2 separate regions of the Homo sapiens genome follow, and region 2 is linked to region 1. The links are contacts of gene promoters, found by promoter capture Hi-C in human tissues and cell types (Jung and others, 2019). All regions are on one chromosome and are shown on one strand. Each heading gives the region's core, a stretch centred on a gene start or on the middle of the fragment in contact. The rest is flanking DNA. Distances are from core to core; before and after follow the strand shown. Region 1 holds the start of EDNRA (endothelin receptor type A). Region 2 has its middle 54 kb from the start of MIR548G.

What was found. Contacts are between HindIII fragments. The study calls those that stand out against the background at their distance.
Region 2: a contact is called between a fragment that was not itself captured here and the fragment with the promoter of EDNRA in region 1, in 5 of the 25 tissues and cell types used here (H1 embryonic stem cells, heart left ventricle, hippocampus and 2 more).

What each region holds. Positions count from the first base shown.
Region 1 is chr4:147,478,432-147,484,735 of GRCh38, forward strand. It overlaps EDNRA (endothelin receptor type A), which reads left to right and starts at 2,666. Exons shown (of 8, transcript NM_001957.4): 1 at 2,666-2,945. RefSeq lists enhancers at 3,356-3,455, 3,486-3,565. The HindIII fragment of the contact is 3,954 bases long and covers 965-4,918 here.
Region 2 is chr4:147,396,002-147,401,859 of GRCh38, forward strand. No RefSeq gene overlaps it. Among named protein-coding and RNA genes, the nearest start is that of MIR548G, 54 kb to the left of the region's middle. The HindIII fragment of the contact is 5,004 bases long and covers 2,047-5,858 here.

The DNA of each region.
Region 1 (6,304 bases), core at 1,416-3,915:
AAAGATCTTAAAAGAGACAGTAAACTCATTTTATGAATTTAGAGGGCAGATCAACAGGTAACGTATAGAGGCAGATTTCATTTTGATGTCAGGAAGAATTGATTACGGTAAAAGATACATAACATAAATTTACCATTTTAACCATTTCAAAGTGTACAGTTCATTGGCATTAAGTACATTCACATTGTTGTGCAACCCTCATCACCATCCGTCACTGGAACTTTTTCATCATCCCAAACTAAATCTCTGAAACGTATGAAACAGTAAGTCCCCATTCTCCCCTCGGCACCTCCAAGCCCCTGGTAATCACTATTCTACCTTCGGTGTCTATGAATTTAACTATTCTAGGTACCTCATCTAAGTGGGATAATAAAATATCTATCTTTCCTTTTATGTCTGGCTTATTTCACTTAACATAATATCTTAAACGTTCATCCATGTGGTAGCATATATCATTCTTTTTTAAAGCTGAATAATGTTCTGTGTTATGTACATGTATTTATATACATATACATACATGTATATACCACATTTTGTTTATCCATTCTTCCACTGATGGATATTTGGATTGTTTCCATCTTTTGGCTAGTTTTCACCTTTTGGCTTTTCTGAATAATGCTGCTATGAATATGGGTGTACAAATATCTGTTTGAGACTCTGCTTTCAATTATTTAGGTAAGTACCAAAAAGTAGAATTGCTGGATCATAGGGTAATTTTATGTTTAATTTTTGGAGGGCTGCCATGCTGTTTTCCACAACTGCTACACTATATTTTACATTCAGACTGGCAATGCACAAGGGTTCCAATTTCTCAACATTCTTGCCAACACTTGTTCTTTGCTGTTTTTGCTTTTGTTTTACTATAATGGCTATCCTAATAGGTGTGAAGGAAGAATTTTTAGTAACTAGTCCTACACCACAGTGAGATCAGCTGTCTCAATAGGTGGGTCATGATGAATGTGTTCTAGCAAAGACTGGACAGATTGACATATTCAGATATGCAGGTGATGCACTGTCCAAGTGTGTCTGGCCACAGAGTGAATAAGGGCTGAAATCCAGCACATGTTTCACGGGCCAAGATGTGAACTGCCTCTTTTGGGAGGAAGCAGTAAGTTTTTCTTTCCCGAAAATATTGTCAGCTTGCCAAGCCACATGCCCAAAGGGTCACCTTTTTTTAATATAAACAATGGCACTTATAAAAGCTATTAGTTATTCTGGTTGGCTGATTCTCCCTCCTAGAGAAGCTGTAAGATTAGTGAACAGGGTAATATCTAGTCTAACCCTACTAGATGACTATTAAGGCCTCTTTCAATGGTGGTTTTCTGTAGATCTCTTTGATGGTTTTACAAAATGGTCCCTAAATTCTTTGACACTCCTCACACTAAGGGTTGGGCTCTATATACCCTCACCTTCAATCTGGGATTTGTGACTGCTTGACTAATAGAATCAAGCAGAAATGACACGGTGCCAGTTTCTGGGCCCAGCCCTTAAGAAACTGGCAGCTTCCACTTTCTGTCTCTGGGGACATTCACTCTTGGATCCCCGCCACCATGCTGTGAGGAAGCCCAAACCACAAGTCTCCACAAGTCTTTGTGGAGAGACGCACGTGGAGAAAAACTAACACTCAACACCAAGCAAGTGAACTGTCTTGGAAGTGGATCCTCCAGCCCCTGCTACATGGAGCAAAAACGAGCTGTCCCAGACAGGCTCTGCCCAAACTGCAGACTGATAAGCAGAGTAAATGAGTGTTGTTATTTTAAGCCACTACGTTTTATAGTAATTTGTTTAGCTGCAGCAGATAGCCGGAACAGCATGGGATATAACATGACCAGTGCTCCAACCTCACACTTCTACCATGTGCTGACTCTAGCAGTGCACTGAAGGACTCCAAGGCAGGCCTTCCCTGAGGAGACCCCAGTTTTTACTCACATGTCACAGGCAGTGGCCTTTGTCCCTCATCTCCTCTCCCACCCCCAATTTAGGATAAAGTATCTGCCGTGATAAAGACGTTGAGACCCACTTTCTGTAAGGTCGGCTTCTTCATTGTTTGAATTTCTTGAGGTTTCACGGAGCCACGCGCTGGAACCTTCCATAGTCTCTCCTGAGGCTCCTTCTTTGCCCTGGGCTGGAGGTCTGTAGCCGTGGGATGCTGGCTACAAGGGACAAGATAGAAGCAAACCACCTGATCCAGTAAACTGCTGTCCACTTCGGCTCCTCAACGGCCTCTAAGCTTAAGAGGGAGCACGCAAGCCAAGCAAAGGCGGCAGGGAAGACGGAGAAGAAACCACCCGTGGGCCCTGGCTCTGTGTCCAGTTGTTCCGTCACAGATCAAATCTGCCTGCACTAAGAGGATGGGTTCCTCTGCAAGGCCTTTCGGAATTCTGAGTCTTGTCTGTCAAACTCTACCCTCTCTCCTCCACATCCCCCACCTTTTCTTTCAGGAAGGAAATAGTTAAAAAAGACTCCTGCCCTTCAGGGCCTGGAAGGGGGCGGCAGCTTTGTGCTTTTTAGTGGCCGCGTCCCAGGATAGCTGGAAGGTTAGGACGCTCTTGCGGTCCCAGAGTGGAGTGGAAGGTCTGGAGCTTTGGGAGGAGACGGGGAGGACAGACTGGAGGCGTGTTCCTCCGGAGTTTTCTTTTTCGTGCGAGCCCTCGCGCGCGCGTACAGTCATCCCGCTGGTCTGACGATTGTGGAGAGGCGGTGGAGAGGCTTCATCCATCCCACCCGGTCGTCGCCGGGGATTGGGGTCCCAGCGAGACCTCCCCGGGAGAAGCAGTGCCCAGGAGGTTTTCTGAAGCCGGGGAAGCTGTGCAGCCGAAGCCGCCGCCGCGCCGGAGCCCGGGACACCGGCCACCCTCCGCGCCACCCACCCTCGCCGGCTCCGGCTTCCTCTGGCCCAGGCGCCGCGCGGACCCGGCAGCTGTCTGCGCACGCCGAGCTCCACGGTCGGTGCAAGTCTTTCTTATCGGGGACTGGGACTGGGGCGGGTGCGGGGATGGCGGAGACGCTGCCTGGGCCCCTCGGTCGGGAGAAGACGAGAGCTGGGAACGTTCTGGCCCGACCGCCCTGCAGCTTGGGCGACCCGTCGCAGCAGGGGCTGGCACCCACTTGCCCCAGGGCGCGCGGGGAGGCGGGCGCCTTCCGTGAGGGGTGCGCTGCGGACACGTGTAGAGTTCGGGGAACTTCACCTCTCCACGTTAGGGTTTAGGATTCGGAGTTTTAGGAAGAGGAAGCCCAATAGTTTTCCCTGGGTGACCCCTTTTCCCCAGGCATGCAAGAACTTTGAGGAACGCCAAGCTCTGTGGCTTGCTCCAGCGCCTTCTTGTGAAGTTGGCTCCACAGCCTTTTCTTACTGGCTTGCTTTTCCTCCCCCACATCTGGGTCTGGGTATGCCAAGGGTAGCCAAGGGCACTCGGTGTGAGGGACTGAGGTGTTTGGGGAAACCCCCTGTGTAGCTAGTTTTGGAAACCTGCCTGTGGAGGTCTGGGCGTTTTGTTCTGTGCTCGCCTTTAAAGGACACTTGTTGCTTCTCACGTGCAGAAAACAAGGGCTGCTTCTAGATAATCACCCTCTGTTTACATCATCCTAATGGCTTTCCCCTGATAGAGTTGGGGGTGGGAGGCATATTAAACTCAGGCGTTGTCTCTAAGGAGAGTTGCTCATTTCTTAACCAGAGAGCAAAACCTCAGAAAACTTGTAAAAAGTTCCTACTTTTACTTGTTTTTTCCTCCACCTGTAGTTGTCTATGTGTTAGCTAATTGAGAAACACCTTGGCAGTCATTTCATGTAAATTGAATGCTCTAAACTCATGCCATTTTGATAAGGTCTGAATTTCCAAATTACCAATTACAGGTGAACTTTGATCCTGAGAGTCTCATATGTTAAATGGTTAAAGTGTAAGCGTAAGGATTCAGTCCTCTTTCTTAATAATAGTTTTTGCACTCCCCAAACTCTCAGATTCCAAACAGGAAGAATGCTGAATCTATAGACCATGTCCTTCAGGTCTGAACCTGAGATGCTTCACTAGCGCTATGACTGATTATGAGTGATGATTCAAAGCACAGCCTGACTCAGATTCCTGGAAATGAGCTACAGACCCACCTTGGAAGAACCTGCAGTTGAGGGGCTTCTTTCATTTGGTTTTGTACTTTTCAGCCAATGATAATATGACATCCACAGGCCTTTGCCAAGTATCCCTTAGTTTTGCAGCTTAACATGTGTGGAGAGCTGATAGAGAAGTCATCAGAAATGATTTCTGTAGTGGTGTCATTGTTGGAGGAGGAAGGAAGGGGGTTTTAATGATAGCTGGCTCTCATGCCTTAAGAACCCACAGCGTTGGCCTTACCTCCTGGCATAATCAGCTAACCAAGCAGACCAGCATGCTAACGTTCAAAGCACCACAGGACCTCTGATGAGTAGAGCAGTACCCACCGTAGCCAGGTCAGTTCACAGGTCAGTTCCCAGCCGACTGTAACCGGCAGAGAGCCATTCCATTTCTGCAAAGGCCTTCTCTCTCTCATTTTTAAGAAAGCTGTTATTGAAGGTTCCCTTTCATTTGGGAAGCTGGAAGACGTTAGTCACGAAACAGCACAAGATATGAAAGTATTTCTTCTCCCCCCTGTATCTGTGATCCAAAAAGGAGGATGACAAGAAGCTTTTCTCTTGGAGTCCTGGTGTTCCCTTTGGAATGGAAATGGTGTCATTTCATAGGTCTATCAATTTTTGGCCAGATACTCACTCCAGATTATAAGAAGCAGGAAAAAACTGCAAACTGTTTATAATTAAGTCTAGTCAGAGCTGACAAATACATGGCCTGCCTCTAGCCTTGAAAAATTGATATTTTTCCCATTTAATCAGAGTGAGTCAAGTCCTATAAGCAAAATTATGTGTCCTGCCATTTCTTGGCTTTGAAACCTTGACCTAAATACTTCTTCAAGACTCTGGTTTCCTTATAAGTAAAATGGAGATATTGCTCCTGCCTACCTAGAGTCGTAAAGCTCAAGGCAGATAACAGATACATATATAATAAGTTACTATATGTAAATACTATTATTATTTCAGAGTTCAGGGGGAAATCTCTGGGGAAGGCAAAAGTATCCAATACTCGCACTTTATATATACCCTATACTTTCTATGCAACTTGAATAAATCTTATTTTATCCACGTATTGGCCAAACCTAAGCTTTACTGATTTCCCAAGATAATTGTCAAAATTCCTAAAAGTGGTTAACATCAACCTTGAATACACTCAGAAAAAGGATTCAATTTTATTTTTTACTTTTTATTTATTTAATTTTTTTTTTTTTGAGACAGGGTCTCACTCTGCTGCTCAGGATGGAGTGCAGTGACTCGATCATAGCTCCCTGCAGCCTTAACCTCCTGGACTCAAGTGATTCTCCCATCTCAGCCTCCCAAGTAGCTGAGACTACAGGCACACGCCACCATGCCTGTCTAATCTTTTTTATGTTTTGTAAAGACAGGGTCTCACTAAGTTGCCCAGGCTAGTTTCAAACTCCTGGGCTCAAGTGATCCTCCTGCTTTGGCCTCCCAAAGTGCTGAGATTATAGACATGAGCCACCACACCCAACCAGGACTCAATTTTTTTAAGATTAAATTATGACCTGGGTATATACATCACAGACACGTACACACACCACCGCATAAATCAGATTATGTCTTCATTTGAAGATTCATAAAAGCCTACAGAAAAGGAAATATATAAAATATTGAAATAGGATGAGCTATTTTTAATTATCTTTGATTATTCCTTATTAAGGTCTCCTAGACTTCCTGGACAGGAAGGACCACTTGCTCTCTGCAAGTGACTTAAAAATAAATAAATAAATAAATAAACCACACCAGATGGTCTTTGAAAATGTCTAACCACCCTCCTGAGTCTATTGCTTCATCTAAACTCTGGAGACTTCTTTAAAATATTTTACATACAAATAAAGCACAAGAATGAGAGACAGGATGGTTTAGTGGTTAACAGCTCCGGCTCAGAGTTGGACTGACCTGCCTTAGAATCGCAGTGTTGCCACCCATCACCTGTGGCCTTGACAAGCTGCTTCACCCTCCTGGGCCTCTGTTTCCCTATCTTCAAAATTGAACCGTGGATCTACCCCACAGGACCATTGTATGGATTACAGGGCATCATGCACATATAGTACTGAGTACAGTGACTGGCATAAAATAAATGTAGCTATATAGGATGGTTAAAAGATAGCATGGGGACAGGTGTCCCTTGGAAACCAAAATACTATGACTAGCCTGGAAAAGTTCATTACTCCCATTTCATTCATCG
Region 2 (5,858 bases), core at 3,299-5,798, 81 kb before region 1:
ATGCCCAAATAGCTGGTAAAACATTATTTCTCTGTGCATCTATGAGGGTGTTTCCAGAAAAGACTAGTATTTGAATCAGTAGACTGAGTAAAGAAGATCTGCCCTTACCAAATGTGTATGAACATCATTTTTCCTAACAGAACAAAAAGGTGTAGGAAAAATAAATTCTCTCTTATTGAGCTGAGACATCCATCTCTTCCTGACCTTGGACATTGGAGCTACTAGTTCTCAGGCCTTTGGACTTTGGAACTGACACAGTGTACACCCTCCCAGCCCACCTGGTGTTGTCAGTCCTTCAGACTTGGAGTTAGATCATTGGCTTCCTGGTTCTCAGGCATTCAAACTCAGACTGAATTACACAACTGGCTTTCCCATTCTCCAGCCTGCAGATGGTAAGTCATGGGACTTCTCCGCTCCCATGATCATTTGAGCCAATTCCCATAATAAATTTCCTATTTTATATATCCTATTGATTCTGTTTCTCTGGAGAACCCTGATTATTATACACCAATGTCAAAATGGAGGCTCCTTAGCAAGTGAGTAGTTTGTCTGAGGTCACAGAGATAGTAAGGCCTGTGTACTTGACACCATCCCATGCTGTCTTCCCATAAGGAAGATTCCACCAAAATGTCTCACATGGAACATGGCCATCATGCAGTGTGCTGTGTTGAACTGTAGCCCAGCGAGCTCTTAATTCAATACCTTGTAAAGCAGTGTTTCACAAACAAGGTAATGCTGGAGGAGGATTTTTCCATGGGGAAAGAGTGTTTTGGCTTTGTTTCTTATCTTTGCACTTTCTACCAGTTACACAGATAAAGTTCACTAGAAAACTTTCCACCACAGTTAATGTAGAAAAACATGCCTTGTAAACTGGAGAGGAGAAGGGGTACGAGACCAAAGTCCACGGTCTCATTTTTGAGGTGAGGAAATCTTTTGGTTCCACTCAAAACAAGAGTCTTTCAGTTGTCCAGCTTTCTAAATTTAACTTAGGTAGGTTTAAAATACTCAGGGAGCACTCAGTAAATGTTAAGTGACTCCAACCTTAACAAAGAAGGAAATCTTGTCATTTGGGACAACATGGATGAAATATGCTAAGTGAAACAAGCCAGGCACAGAAGGACAAATGCTTCATGATCTCACTCATAGAAGTGGAGAGTAAATGGTGGTAACCCAAGGCTGAGGGGAAGGGATGGGTTGAAGAGATGTTGGTCAAAGGGTACAAAGTTTCAGTTACATAAAAAGAATAAGTTCAAGAAATCTATTGTACAACATGATGACTATAGTTAATAACAAAGAAATGTATTCTTGGAAATTGCTAAGAAAGCAGATTTTAAGTGTTCTCATCACAAAAAAATGACAAGTATGTGAGGTAATACATATGTCAATTAGCTCAATTTAGTAATTTCACGATGAATACATATCTCAAAACATTTGGTTGTACACAATAAACATATATAAATTTTAGTTGTATGCAATAAACATATATAATTTTTACCTGACAATTAAAAACAAGTAAATGGGAGATTTCTGAACCTATTCTGGTTCAGGGACTGCCTAATAAAAATAATGACAATGAGTAAACAACAAAGAAAAAAGGTTAAGTGACTCAAGCTTACAAAGAATTGACCTTAGAAATTTCAATTATACCCATCGCCCAAAAGATTAATCAAAGGATGCTGTTGACAAATGATTGTAATCTGAATTAAATATATAAGATGGCAAAAGTATAACTAATACCTCAAATAGCATCAAAGAATAATTTTCTATAAATACTGTCTGAGAAACACATCAAATCCTTGAAACTTAAAATTTAGAAAATTGAGAAAAGTTACTCTGGGCAAACCATTGTCACTTAAATATTTCTTGATCAAGTGCTGAAGAACTAAATAGAACAACTCTAAGAATATTAGGAAAAGACTATTTTTGACTGTTTCAAACTATGAAATATGTCATTTTACTAAACCCTAGAGACTCCCTGTATTTTTCACAAATAGTCATTGAGAAACAAAAGAGTTGAGGCTGGGATGGTGGATCATGCCTGTAATCCCAGCACTTTTGGAGGCTGAGGCAGGTGGATCACCTGAGGTCAGGAGTTTGAGACCAGCCTGGCCAACATGACAAAACCCCTATCTCAAAAAAAAGAAATAGCTAGGCATGGTGGTGTGCACCTGTAGTCCCAGCTACTTGGGAGGCTGAGGCAGAGAATCACTTGAACCCGGGAGGCAGAGGTTGCAGTGAGCCGAGGAGGCGCCACTTCACTCCAGCCTCTGTCTCCAAAGAAAGAAAGGAAAAGAAAGAAGGGAAGAAAGAGAGAGGGAGGAAAGAAGGGAGGAAGGAAGGAAGGAAGGAAGGAAGGAAGGAAGGGAGGGAGGGAGGGAGGGAGGGAGGGAAAAAGAAAAGAGGTGAGCACACGGTTACTTTGAGGAAAACAAAGATGAAACTTCACATCACATTCCAACAAGTCACAGCTTGATCTCTAAGCTTTGCAGTCAAAAAGATTTTATATAAACATGAAGTACTTCTACTGTCTCCCAAAGCCTATCCCCTGATCAGTCCTCAGCTTAGAACATTGACCAATTACACAGCTCACACTAGGCTGATCTCAGATTCTCCTCTGAACTTCTCTTAGGGAGAACCTGCTTTCTGAGGACATTCCCACACTCAGTTCGCTGGGCTGTTGTCCATTTTTCATTAGCCTCAAAGGTTTAATGGCAACTCCATCACCAAAATATTAATCACACAATGAAGTTACAGATTTTCCAACATTCTTGAGCAAGATGTGCTAAGACTTATGTTACATTTGGCCCACGTTCACATTCTTTGGTTCTATTTAATCTCAATTAATTTCTGTAAATTCCTCATTTGCATGCTCTCTCTCTCTTTCTCTGTGTGTGTGTGTGTGTGTGTCTGTCTGTCTGTCTGTCTGTCTATGACAAATACACCTGAAGTTAAGGGGAAAAAGTAAAGATGTTTGGGCCATAGCATGGGCCTCTCCTAAGCCATATCTGCAGTCAGGATAACAAAGAAAATTAGCATGTTATATAACGAATATGTCTGAAAACTGAATTAGAAAGATATCCCTGTTACCTAAGGAAAAGCCACTCACAGTGGCTCTCTGACTTTTTTTAATTTATGGAGACAAAAATATTTCTACTTTACTGAATACTGCATATAGAAATTTAATAAGCCAAAACATGCCCTCCTATTTAAAACCAATTATAATTTTTGTTGAAAACCATTATCATTCAAATTGTTGCATACATATATATAATACATTTTACTACTTTATGAAGAGGAAAATTTAAATATTTACCATTTATCTAAAATGCCTGTTCACATACATAAAATTATCATGTAAAAACTAAAATTTCTCTTTATTTAGAATGCAAAACATTCAGGATTTAACAACTGGCATATAAAAATAGTAATGACCCTACTAAAGTAAATTTAAAAGATATCATTTCTATTTAAATGTCATCACATTTAGGCAAATTTGACAGATTGCCTCCTCACAGAAAAACGTTTAGGCAGTATATGGATTTAAAATACATTATATTGTAGGCTAGGAGTCAAACATGTTAATTATCTAGCATCGTTCCTCTACAGAATGGATTTCTCCAGCTTCAACATGCCTCATGCCCCCATTTAGAGACTAATGCTATTACCTGTCTGTAAGCTAATATTCAGGTGAAATGAGGTAGTTTGGTGACCTAAATTATCTTCTAATACCCTTAACCTTTAGCTGGTAAAAGCTTAGCCTAACAACATGTCAAATGAGGCCTAGTTCTGGCTGTAATGAAATTTCCACCTCATGTAAGCCTGTAACTTGTCTATGCTTTTCCCCTTTACAGTGGTGTCTTTTACATATGCTAAAAAAGGAGTTAGTTGATATATGTTTCTCTGGAAATTTGCATAAAGGAGGACACTGGAAAGGAAAATTAGAGAGTCAAAAACCTTGAAACTGCTTTTGGCTCTAGGCTAGGGAGATTTTTATTTTTACTTTTTAATCTACCAATTTATTTAAAAGGAATGTATAATACACATATAGTAAAGAGCACGAATCTTAGCATACGGATTGATGAATTTTTATGTACACATATAGCCTAGTAACCACCCAGCTCAAGATACAGAACATTCTCGTCAACCTACAAGCTTTCCTCATGTACCTTCCTAGCCAATACTCTCCCTCTACTCAGAGGTAACTGCTCCTTTTTTTTTTAATTGACAAATAATCATTGTATTTATTTATAGGGTACAATATGATGTTTGATATATGTATACACTGTAGAAAGAGGTAGAAACCAACCAACATTTTACCCCCTGCTTCATTTAAATGAGAAAATGCAATATGTGTCTTTCTGTAGGCTACAGAAAATTTTTAAGATATTAACTTTTATGGTTGAAGAGAAGAGAAAGAGAACAAAAAGCTTCTCTTAAAGCAGAATCAAGGCTTGTGGATAATTTAAATTTAACAATAATGTGTAAGTTCCTGGCTATCACTTCAACAAAAACATATTAACAGAACATATTTCAAATAACTGAGTTTTTCACAATAAAACTTTCTCTTTATTAATGTCAGGACTCAGAGTTTACTACAAATTTATCTCGATAAGAGGGAGAGAACATGTAATAAAAGAGCGTAGAACTACTGTGTAACAAATAAAACGAAGTTTTAAAAGTATTGTGCATATATATGTATAAATGTGTGTATATATACATATTTTAAAGGGAAAACTCAGAGTCTAGATTAAACAGATATGACCTATAAAATTGATATCAAAAATATTTTCAATACTTTATGAAACTTTGTTCTTTGGAAGTTAATTACATTTCGCTTAATATACTGTTAAGAAAAGAGAAGAGTAACTGACAGCTGTTCTCCCTCACTAGCAGGCCAACTTCATGAGTGGTCATCACAAAAATGCTCATTAATTTAGATGACCACTCATAGTGTTACAGTTTTAGACAGCACACTGCATTGGGAGGGGTATATGTAATTACGTTTTGTGTGTGTGTATTACTAGGGATTTGGGAGGTCAAATAATAACTCTCCTGCTCTGTCTTGAACTGAAACCAAATGAGCAATAGGACAGGAGCCTCTGTATACTTGGCCGAATTTTTCTACAGAGAGGACTTCCACTAAACCTAGAAGAATGTGTTTGGTTCCCTGTCACCTCTTTATATGTGTGTGTATTTGTGACTAAATACAAAACCTACCCTGCCTTTCAGGTGAACACCCTGCTGAATCATATAGCTTTTATTAAACATCAGAACGATTAGAATGGGAAGGTACACATCAATGTGATAGTCTATATTCCCACCGAAGTTAAAAATTCGGTCATTCAACTCTACGGAGCATCTGATATTTTGAGTAATTCACATAGTTGTGAACAAGCTATTCAAGGACCTTATGCTCACAGGGCTTCTACATAAATAATGCTAAAAGAAAAGCATTAAGCCTTTTCCCAAAAATGTCCTCATTGTAAGGGTGTTTCTTCCTCATATCTTCAAAGACACTTTCGGTTAAAAACCCAGGGATAGAATGCAGCTTTATGCCAAAAAAAAGATGGAAATACCTAAAGCTATCCAGAGAAGAAATAGACAGCCTCAAAGGCACTGTTCATAAGGTGCACAGCCATCTGGCATGGGTTGTCTATTAGTATTAGAAGGATCAAATGACCCTTAAGAGTCCATTCAACTCTTTTCAAATTTTTATACCTTCTTTTGTAAATACAGAGTAGAAAAAAATTGAAGTAGACAGCATGGAATTCCAATTGTCCCCATTGAAAGAAACAAAGTATTAGCAACTCATTACACATTCTGCTGTCTTTCTTGTGTCCATACTATATTCTTACACT